2 separate regions of the Homo sapiens genome follow, and region 1 is linked to region 2. Evidence: promoter capture Hi-C in 16 types of primary human blood cells and fetal thymus (Javierre and others, 2016). All regions are on one chromosome and are shown on one strand. Each heading gives the region's core, a stretch centred on a gene start or on the middle of the fragment in contact. The rest is flanking DNA. Distances are from core to core; before and after follow the strand shown. Region 1 overlaps FIRRE (firre intergenic repeating RNA element). Region 2 holds the start of OCRL (OCRL inositol polyphosphate-5-phosphatase).

Region 1 (5,983 bases), core at 604-3,103, 2.2 Mb before region 2:
GTGGGATGTAGCAGGAGCAAGTAAGTTTTCTGAGGGTCTCAAGGGCACCCAATTGTCTGAAGACTAGAAGGGCATAAAGAGAAATTGAACCACTGAGCTAATCAAGGAAGAGTTACATCTTCTTCTAGTGGACTGTTGTACATAAACACATAAACCAAAAACAGTGAAAGGGACTGAAAATCAATCTACATTTTAATAGTATTTGTTGGAGATGGCATTACCCGTGATCTCACTTCACGTTATCATGTATGACTATTGTGGCAGGTATGTTTTCAAGAAGCATGATTGTTTCTACGAATTCAAAAACAGGTGGCGAAAGTGACATCAATGAAAAGTATGCATTAGGGAACTTCTGTAGTCCCTCTCTCTGGAAAGGCAACTCAAAACAATCAAGAATCTATCATTAGAAGATCATTTTCTCAACACGATATATGGGGCATTTATAAAAAATCTACAGGTAGTATTATACTCAAGAGTGAAAGACTGAAAGCTTTCCTCCCAAGATCATGAACAAGGCAAGAATGCACACTTTTGCCCTTTTCTTGTACACTTAAAATTCTAGTCAGGGTCATCAGACAATGAAGATATATAAAAGGCATCCAAGTTGAAAAGAAAAAAAAGAAAAAAAAAATGGAAATTATCTCTCTTCATAAAGATGATGATATTATAAAAATGCTTTAAACTGCAGAAAAACCATATTAGAGCTAATGAACAATATTCAGCAAGCCCCACAGGATAGAACATTAAATCGTAAAAATCAGTTATAGTTGTGTACACTAGCAATGAACAATCTGAAAATTGAATTAAGAAAGCAATTCCATTTATAATAGCATCAAAATAAATCATATTTTAAGGAGAATATTTCACTAAACAGATGAAAGACTTGTACATTGAAAAATCACAAAATATTGGAGAAGAACTTAAAGATTACCTGGATTTTTAAAAAGGACATCCTGTGGGTAATGAGTTAGAAGACTAAATATTTATAATATGGCAATACTAGCCATAGAGATCTACAGATTTAATGTAATCCTAATTATTATTCCCATGAGCATTTATTTTTGGGAAAAAGAAAGAGCAAATTCTAAAGATCCTATTAAATTGCAAGAGATCTGAGTAACCAAACTTTGAGTAAGAAAAACCAAGGTGGAAGACACACTTCTAGATTTCAAAATTTACTAGAAAATCTAGAGTAATCAAAGCAGGCTGATGATCAAATAAGAATACACACAGTGATTAATGGAAGAGATGAAGAGTCTGAAAATAAACCCAGACATTGTGGTCAATTGACTTTTCACAAAGTTATCAAGTTCATTTAATGAGACGTGAATAGACTCCTTAAGAAATAGTGCTTAGACAACTGGTTATCCACATGCAAAAGGATGAAGTTAGACCTCTACCTCACATCATGTGCAAAAATTAACTTGAAATGTATCAAATGTCTAAAGGTAAGAGCTAAAGCTATAAAACCTTCAGGGAAACTATAGGAATAAGTCTTCAAAACTTTAGATTTGGCAATGATTTTTTAGCTATACCGCCAAAAGCACCAATAACAAAAGAAAAAATAAATTGGACTTCCCTGGAATTAAAAAATTTTGCATCAAAGTGCACAATTCAGAACTTGAAAAGCCAACTTACGGAGTGGGAGGAAATATTTCCAAATCAATTATCTAAAAACTGCTAATATCCAATACATATAAAGGACTCTTAAAAACAACAAAAGACAACCCAATTTTTAAAAAATAGGCCAAGGGAGAGTGACATCACCAAAATGGTAGAGTGGAAGCAATCTGACTTTACCCCAAAGAAAACTAAAAATAGCTGTCTAGTGCCAAGATTGTCACAAGCAATATTGCAGAACTGAAAATTGAGACTATGACGATCTGTGGGTCCACAAGAAAGTGAATACATATGAGCAGCTGGAAAGATTAATAGACTTCTGTCTCTGTGATTCCCCAACTCAAAGCTGCTAGGCACCATGTAGAAAATTCCCCCTGGACTCACGGTTTCCTCTGTAAAATGTGAGATCCAGGCAGGCAGCTAGCTTCTCTACCATTTTGGTGTCCTTTGCAGGAATGCTGTTCTTGCCTCACTCCCTAGAAAGCATCCTGACTGCCTGTAGGAAGAAAAATCTCTGAGGGCAGCTAGAGACAAAAAGTGGAGTCGAAGCTAGCAACCCCAGTGCATTAAATTTGGGGACTCGTCTTTTGCTGAGACAAAGAAGACCTCAAATCAGAGAGGGCATCAGCAGCAACATGAAAATGAACAGGAATGAAAAAAGAACCGGAAAGGCTATACTCTGGCCCAGCATGGTGGCTCACGCCTGTAATCCTAGCACTTTGGGAGGCCAAGGCAGGCGGATGACCTGAGGTCAGGAGTTCAAGACTAGCCTGGCCAACATGGTGAAACCCTGTCTCTACTAAAAATACAAAAATTAGCTGGGCGTGGTGGCACACGCCTGTAATCCCAGCTACTTGGGAGGCTGAGGCAGGAGAATCCCTTGAATCCAGGAGGCAGAGATTGCAGTGAGCCGAGATCATGCCATTGCACTCCAGCCTGAGCCACAGAGCGAGACTCCATCTCAAAAAAAAAAAAAGAAAGAAAGAGAGAGAAAGAAAGAAAGAGAGAGAGAGAGAGAGAGAGAAAGGTCATACTTAGATACAATAGATTAAAAGTCAAAAACTGTAAAGAGAGGCAAAGAAGGTCACTGTATAACAATGAAAATGCCAATACAGCAAGAGGATATAACAATTGTATATATGTATGTACCCAACACTGGAACACAGAAATATATAAGGCAAACATTTGAAGATCTAAACAGAGTGATAGAATGGCGTACAACAACACTGGGAGACTTCAGTACTCCACTTTCAGTAATGGACAGCTTAATTAGACAAAGAAACATTGAAATTAAACTGTTCTCTAGACCAAATGAACTTAACTGACCTTTACAAAATATTTCATCCAATTGCTATAGAATATACATTCTTGTCATCAGCATATGGAACATTCTCCAGTATAGAGCATATGTTAGGCCACAGAACAAGGCTAAACAAATTTAAGAAAAGACCCGAAAATATGAAATTACTAGAATAAGAGCCTGGGGAAATGCTTTAAGACATTGTTCTGGGGAAAGATTTTTTGTATAAGATCTGAAAAGCACTGGCAATCAAAGCGAAAATAGACAAATGAGAGTAAATCAAGCTAGAAAGCTTCTGCACAGCAAAGAAAACAACAAAGTGAGGAGACAACCTACAGAAAGAGAGAATATCTTAGCAAACTATTGATCTAACAATGGAATAACAAATCACAATGTAAAACAAACTCAGCTCAATAACCAAAAACCAAATTATCTGATTTACAAATGGGCAAATGATCTGAATAGGCATTTCTGAAACAAAGACACAAATGGCCAACAGATATATGAAAATACGTTAAACATCACTAACCGTCAGGGAAACGCAAATCAAAACCATGTGAGATACCATATTACCCCAGTTCAAATGGCTCTTACTAAAAAGACAGAGAATAACAGTTGCTGGCTAGGAAGCAAAGAGGAATGCTTGTATACTGTTGCTGTAAATGTATATTAATACAGCCACTATGGGACATAGGATGGAGTTTCCCCAAAAAGCTAAAAATAGAGTTACCGTATGATGCAGCAATCCCGCTGCTGAGTATATATTCAAAAGAAAGGAAACCAGTACAGCAAAGAGATATATGCATTGCCATGTTTATTGCATCATTATTCACAATAGCAAAGATATAGAATCAACCTAAGTGTTCACTGACGGATGAATGGATTAAGAAAATGTGACATACATATAAAAAGGAAGATTATTGAGCCAGAAAAAGGAATAAAATCCTGTCATCTGCAGCAACATGAATGGAACTGTAGGACACTACGTTAAGTGAAATAAGCCAGATGCAGAAAGACAAATTATCACATGTCCTTACTCATGTGCAGGAGCTGAAAGAATCCATCTCATGGAACTATAGAGTAGAATGGTGGATACCAGAAGTTAGGAAAGGAGGGGAATGAAGAGAGGTTGGTTAATGGCTACAAAAATACAGTTGGACAGAAGGAGTAAGTTCTAGTGTTCAATAGCATACTTAGGGCGACCATAGTTAGCAATAATTTAATGCTTATTTCCAAATACCTAAAAGAACATTTGAAATGTTTCCAACACAAACAAATAATAAATGCATTAGGTGATGAGTATCCCAGTTATCCTTTTTTGGTTATCACACATTTTGTGGATGCATGAAAATATATGTACTACATAAATATGTACAATTATATGCAAATTTTAAAAATAGGCAAAGCTCTTAAATATACAATTCTCCAAAGAAGATATACAAATAGCCAACAGTTCTATGAAAGATGCTTCCATTATTAGTCTTTTCAGAAACGTAAATCAAAACCACCTGATGGTACCAATTAACACCCACTAGAATGGGAATTACTTAAAAAGAACAAATATCAGTGGAGAGGTGGAGAAGTTAGAACTCTTCTAGAGTGTTGGTGGAAATGCTAAATTGTGCACCTGCTACAGAAAGCAGTTTATCAGTACTTCAAAAATTTAAACATAGAAGGAACCATATGAGCTAGCAACTCTACTCCTATGTATACACCACATATGATTGAAAACAAATACTCAAACAAGTACTTTTATATACTCACTGTATATATTTATTAACAATACCCAAAAGGTGAACATAAGCAAACATCCATCACTTGATGAATGGATAAACAAAATGTGATATATACATATGGATATTATTCAGCTACAAAATGAAATGAAGTACTGACATATATTACAACATGGATGAAATTTGAAAACATGCTAAGTGAAAGAAGAAAGAAAAAAGGCTACTTATTGTGATGATCAGTAGTGAGGGAAAGTAGATTAGTGTTTGCTAGGAGCTGGGCAGAGAGTGGAATGGGGAATGACTGCTTAATGAGTTCACGGTTTTCTTTTGTGGTAATGAAAATTATTTGCCACTACACAGAGGTAGTGCTTGCACTGCATTGTGAATGTACTAAATGCCACCAAATTTGAACATTTTAATGGTTATTTTTATGTTACATGAATTTTACCAACACAGTTTCAAAAAGTGCCAATATTTTTAAACCTATCATTATTTCCAAGAATAATTAATTACATTTGAAAAGTACTCAAGTTATCAGTGAAGAAAACTTGTTTCAATGATTATACTACAGGGGAATTTGAACATTAGTTTATAAATGTACATATTATATGTGCATAGGAAAGAGATCATAATACATAGCATAGATATTTTAAAAGTGATTACTTCTCACTAGGTTTGACCTACCATATGTTTTCTGCTTGTAATTTCTTAAAGTTTTTCTAGAGTAAAATATAAAAAAACTCAAGCACTCAAAAGTATATATTGATATGGATATATTCAAAGATTATAAGGTGATGCCGAAGATTTTGTACAAAATTGCAAACAGTATGAATCCAATTATATTGAATGTAAAATGTGTGTGGGACTGTGTGTATTCATATCTGTTTATATGCATATACAGATTTAAAAATGCCATATATATATTTTTTTAGACAGGGTCTCGCCCTGTCATCCAGGCTGGAGTGCAGTGGCATGATCGTGGCTCACAGCAGCCACGACCTCCCTGGGCTCCGGTGATCCTCTCACCTCCACCTCCTGTGTAGCTGGGCCCACAGGTGCATGCCACCACGCACAGGTATATTTTGTATTTTTTGTAGAGACAGGGTCTCACTAAATTGCCCGAGATGGTCTCAAACTCCCGGGCTCAAGCAATCCTCCTGCCTTAGCCTCTCAAAATGTTGGGATTACAGTCGCGAGCCACCACACCCAGCCAATGGCATATATTTCAAATCATGGTCAGTGTTATAGTGAGTATATGTTTGAATATGATATTTTTGGCCAACAAATTCATATCTTTAATTCATAGTTATATAAACAGACATTAATGAAA
Region 2 (5,843 bases), core at 3,313-5,812:
TGACAGCTAGATATTGCTCTAGGCCTAAAAGGATGCTAGTGGTGATGAACATCTGATTACCCACACTGTTCTCTAGGCCATATATCCTAAAAACAGTGTACAAGCTTAAGAGCATGAATTACAGAGTATATAGCTTCAGAGTATGCATACCAGAGTGAAGAACTGACAGCTAGATGTGAAGTCCATGAGTGCAGGGACCACAGCTATCTTTACACCACGGAATTTCTAGTACCTAGCACAAAGCCTGGCACACAGGAGTTGCTCGTGTGTGTGGAATCAATGAATTAGAAAATTCATAAATTAACCTTCCAATTATATTCCCATGGCTTTTTACCAAAGAATGGATCTGTCTCTTCAAACAAGCATTCAGGTTCATGGAGGAGTAAGAGGGGGTGCTCAGCCAGCTGGATTGGTCAAAATATCAGTGACCAACAAGGTGGCAGATATCACAACTGGATTGCCTTCAAATCCCTTGTTTCTTCTCTGGTTTCCAAGTTTACGCTGGTATTTCTACATAAACATGAGTAAACCTGACTCCCCAGATGAAATCCATACTTCTAAATCCATACGTACTCCTGAAATATTAATTTTTCATTTATTATTTATCCTTAGTGGTCCAGAATCAAGGTACGACCTACTGGTAAACAGCCATTCTGAACGTCAACTAGCATTCTCAAAGTCAAGCACTCTTCAAGTATTGTTTTTAGTTTTTTGTCAGGAACACTCTGTTTCTTTCCGAGTTTCATCTCAAATATCACCTCCTCCATGAAACTGTCCTCAGTACCCCCAAGCAGAACCAGCAGCCTTATCGCCTTTGTTTGCCCCTCTAATAGAACACTTACACACTCCATTATGGTTATATTTATTTCCCCTCACTGATTTCAGCTCCTTGAAAGCAAAGACCAGATCATATTCAGTTTTGTCTGCAGCCTAATAGATGCTCAACAAATACTGGCTGAATAAATTAACTAGCTTAATTAAGCTATAAGCAGCGGTGAATTTTTCAATGAAACTGTCCAACTTCTGACATTAAAATGTCATTGTTTTGAAGGGTTTGATTTCTATTTTGTTGTCTTTTGGGGGTGCTTGTTGCTTTTGCTTTTTGCATTTTCAAATGTGTTAACTTTGAAGAGGATAACCTGGGATAGGATAAGTAATTACTTAGATAGAACTAAGGGAAATAAAAGTATTAATGCTGTTTTTCTGCTGTGATCCTTCTTGCCTAATTTGCAGGGGTTTGTACTCTAAGGTGATTACAGGAATATGGGGCAGGCCCCTTTCCATCTGGAAAGTTCATGAGTTGAGTGGAGAGTCCTATAAACCCAGATGGAAACCAGAAACCAGATAAAAGGCTGAGAAATCAAGGGTTAAGGAGGAAGAGCTTACTTTGAGGAAGATAAACACAAACCACTAAAATCTCAAAATACATAAACAAGAAATGGTGTTGAACATTAGCATTAAAGCTTCATCTGGACAGTACTGTTAAAAACTATTACAAAACAAATAAACTGAGAATTTAAGTGAATTTCACCAACATTTATTGAGTATTTACTACGTGTTACCCACTAAATTACAATAAAAGAGTAGGGCTAAGAATAAGCATAAAAATTCTGAGTGTAATTATTCATTTCAGAATATAAAGATTAGAAATAATTGGTATACAGCAAAACAATGGAATTCAGAATTTGGTAGTTGTCAAACAGAAAAGAGTGACAAATCCTGAATGCCAACTCTGCCTTATCCCTAGGAAACACTTTGATTTGTTCAAGGAAGGTTAAAGGTCAAACAGGTTTTGTCATAATCTATTATCCTTGAAAAATATGAATCTTAAGTGTTTGATTCCCTGTTTCCAAAAAAACCCTGATTTTTAATTGTAATTTTGGTCAAGCAAATTTCCTATGGTTGACAGTAGGAACCACAGACCTAAAGATTTAAGTCAGGCTTCAAGTTCTAGGATAAAAAAGCCAAAAGTAAAAAGTTCTGGACACTCGAGTCAGAAAAGACACCAGAGAGACAAGAATATGAGGATTACAGATGGTATTATGGTATTAGGTGTCTCCAGCAAATGCTTTCAAGAGAAACTTCTCAGTGTAATTCTGAGACATGTTACATAGGATCAGATCTCAGGTATTCTACTCCCTAATTGCAAACAAGTGACTTAACCTGTCTGTGCTTCAATTTCTGTATCTATAAAAGGGGGATGATGATATTACTATCTTATAGTAACCCTCACATGTGGATTAAATGAACTAACTAATGAAAAGGGCTTAGAACAGTACCTGGCACATAAGCAGCCATTGAATGTTAGTTATATAGCAACAACTATATTAGTTGTTAGTTATATGTTAGTTTATATATAAACTATAGTTTATATGTATTTAAAACTATAGTTTATATATATTTAAAACTATTTACATAGTTTATATATAAACTGCTAATATAGCAACAACTATATTAGTTGTTAGTTATATAGTTGTTATATAGTGTTACCTATATATTAATGTTAGTTATATAGCAGCCCCATACCCCCACATATACCCCCAACTATACCCCCATAACTTACACAGAATTGGAACACACGACTTCCTTATTAGCTCAACAGAGTTCCAAATCTACTAATCCGAGGGACTAGATTCTGGGCTGTGGTCATCTCAACAATGTAGCTACTCTATTCAATCTTCATGATTTTGTTTTTACATTAGAGGAAACCAAGGCACACAAGTTTTACTGGTTTGCCCAAGGGTCACCTCTCTGTAACCCACTCTAGCCTTTGGAAATGTTAGTGGTGTTCCACTTTTCTGCTGAATTTTGTTTTATTAAATTCTGAATTTAGTTTAGTTTCATTAAACTAGTCTTCCAGGGTTTGATGAAATCCGGGTTTGATGAACTTCCCAGTAGAGCTGACTAAGCAGGACCTATGAAAGAGCTACTTCACAGAATTAGCTGACATCCAGTTAGAGTGGCACCAATAGTCTCAGAGAAGAGCAGGTTGGGCCAGTGGGAATTTCTTCCGTGTAAATCTGACAGCATAGATACAGAGGATCTAAAAGTGGGGACTGAGAAAATTGGTTTTAGGCAGAAGCCAATGTTGGGAGATGGCAAGATTTAAGTGAACAATTTTTAAACTGGGAAGGAATATGATGTCAAGAAGCCAATGAATATCCAAGTGAGGTGTCTTGGGCACACAGGGATAGGGGCCTATGATACGTAATGGTCACCATGGATATTTTTGAGATAAGATATTAGTGACAATAGAGTGAGGTTAGCAGCTATGGTGATAGCTTATCAAAATAATCTTTTGATCAATCAGTCAACAGTATTTACGGAGCTCCTATGGCAGAGAGGAAGGTGACACACTGATAAAATACTGTCATTTCTATCTCTACACATTTCATTACCTTTTCTTTCTAACAGTAAAGTCAGTAAGTGAGGCAGTTTCTGGCCTACACTAAACCATTACTGAATTAATGAATATGCCTTCAACCCAGTGGGATAAGGGGACGGGGAGACTGGAGAAACCAGCTGAATAGGGTTAAGACAAGTCTGTAACGTTAACAATGAAGCATTTCCATAGCACTTTTACTTTTTGGAAGCCACTCTCGCATTTATTTTTCCCCCAGTTATAATTCCAAAGGCTGTAAGGTAAGGCAGTTAATGGTTTTATTAAACTGAAGAGTTAACTTTGGCCCAGAAAGCTTTATTGACTTGCCCAACGTTACACAACACATGTCAGTTGCAGGGGCAGGAACTAAGAACCCAGGCTTCCTGCTTCCCCGCCCATTCAGTCCTTCCACTGAGCCACACTGCCAAGCACAATCCAGAGGCTTGGAAGTTGGGGACAAAGCCCCGAGGTTAGAGAGCACTGGCACTTCACACCTGGACCTGAACCTGTTGCCCGCGTGGCTTCAGTAGGAGGACAGTGGGTGACCCGTCGCGGTTTGGGGTTGGGAGGTAATGGCAGGCTCCCCTCCTCTGTGGGAATCAGGTGGTTACTTACTCATATTGCCCGTTCCTCTGGGCTAGGGTCAGGGCGCAGGGCTCCCGGAGAGGACCCTTCATCTCCATACCCTCGACAGTATGCGGGCGCTAGTCAAGGGTCTCCTTCGGAAGCGCGGTGGGGAGGAGTGGTGCACTGCGGGGCGAAGGGGGTCTTCCACCCCCCCCCCACCGCCGCCCTCCCCCGCCCCGCCCCGCCCTGCTTCGTCTCCCGCGCCGGCCCCCTCCCCCTCTCTGCTCGGCCTCTGGGCCACCCGGTTGCCCCGCCCCACCGTGTTCCGCAGGGCCCCCGACCCCCACCCCCGGCCCTGCGCGGCCTCCCCTCTCCCTTCTCTCCGGCGGATACGGCAAGCGGCTGGGCTCCGACCGGGAGCGGCGGCTCCATCCAGGCGGCCTCCGGGCTCAGCAGGACAGCGGACTGCGGGCCGATCCGACGACACTGGCTCCCGCGTCCCCACACCCACCCACCTCGGCTGCGTGTCGTTTGAGGAACAGCTCCGCGCCGGGCGCCGGGCGCCGGGAGCCGGGAGCGGGGAGCTGGGAGCTGAGAATCTGACCCAAGAGAGAGCGGCGCCTCGCGCCCCCGCCAGTTTTCCAGGCCGCCGCAGATTCCGTCCCCTGCGGTCAAACTGCGGAACTGCAGCGAGAGACCTGACGGACTGGGGGCGTCTCTACCAGGTCCAGCAAGGAATGGGTTTTAAATGCCACCTGTGACATCAAAATTGTTCTGAGGACTTTGAAGGCCACAGAAACAAAACACAGTCATACCTATGGGAGATCTCAAACCTGTTGTGTCAATACGACCCACATCATTCAGTAAAAAAATACATATATATATATATATATATTTCTTAAGGTTATAATGTCCCGTGTTGGTTATCCTACCATTTCCTTTCCTCTTCTTTCTTCCACGCCCTAAATCGGAGAATTCCCCAAAGCCCAGACCTTTGCTCCTCCTCTGCGTCCCCTCCAGTTCACCTCTAACTAGACAATGTCCAAATATATATCCCTGGCCCAGACCTCTTACCTAATAGAGTCCATTGTTAACACATCACTGCGTCACAAAACTAACTCATTATCATTTCACTGGAAAGCCATATATCGTCTTCCCCCTCCTCATCTCTATATCCAATCAGTCAACACACCCTGTTAATATTTTACGTGGAATTACTTTTAGATTCCTTATTTTCTCTCCATTCACACTGCCATAACTTTATTGTAAGCCCTTGTGATAGCCTATCTGGGTTATTGCACTTTTCTTTAAATAAATCCTGTTGGGTTTACTCTTTCCTTTGACATGTTTACTCTGTTGACAGCCATAAAAATATTTTTCCCAAAGTAATTTTTCGATCGTGTTATTCATTTGCTCCAGAATCTATAATACACTAGATATCAAGAGTGACTGTAAATCTGTAGTAATTAAAAGTATGCTGTGGAGATAGACAATCAATGAAACACAATATAAACCCCTCAAACAGACCACACATATACGGAAGGTTGATATGCAGCGTGTGGGACATTTCAAATCAGTGGGGAAAGAATGGATTATCCACTAAGTGGTACTAGGACTACTGCTTATCCATATGGAAAATTATAAAAATTAGACCCCTACCTCAAACCATGGAAGAAAAATCAGTTCCAGGTGGATTAAAGATCTAAATGTGAAAAGCAAAACTTTATAACTTTCAGAAAAAAAAATTGAGTATGAGCTTGGAATATGGAATGAGAATAAGACATTTAGCTACATGAAATTTCAAAATGTATGTACTTTAAGACAATATAAACAAGTTAAAAGACAAACTGGCCTGCACAGTGGCTCATGCCTGTAATCCCAGCACTTTGGGAGG

What was found. The method cuts DNA at HindIII sites, captures the fragments that hold promoters and counts their contacts. A CHiCAGO score of 5 or more calls a contact.
Region 1: a contact is called between a fragment that was not itself captured here and the fragment with the promoter of OCRL in region 2, in 1 of 17 cell types (M1 macrophages). The highest score is 5.4, in M1 macrophages.

The regions. Positions count from the first base shown.
Region 1 is chrX:131,785,750-131,791,732 of GRCh38, reverse strand. All of the region lies in intron 3 of FIRRE (firre intergenic repeating RNA element), which reads left to right. Among named protein-coding and RNA genes, the nearest start is that of FIRRE, 42 kb to the left of the region's middle. The HindIII fragment of the contact is 2,722 bases long and covers 493-3,214 here.
Region 2 is chrX:129,538,978-129,544,820 of GRCh38, reverse strand. OCRL (OCRL inositol polyphosphate-5-phosphatase) reads right to left here and starts at 4,562. Exons shown (of 24, transcript NM_000276.4): 1 at 4,343-4,562; 2 at 3,998-4,077. The coding sequence starts at 4,381. RefSeq lists silencers at 4,349-4,548, 4,659-4,718 and an enhancer at 4,435-4,729. The HindIII fragment of the contact is 8,325 bases long and covers 3,698-5,843 here.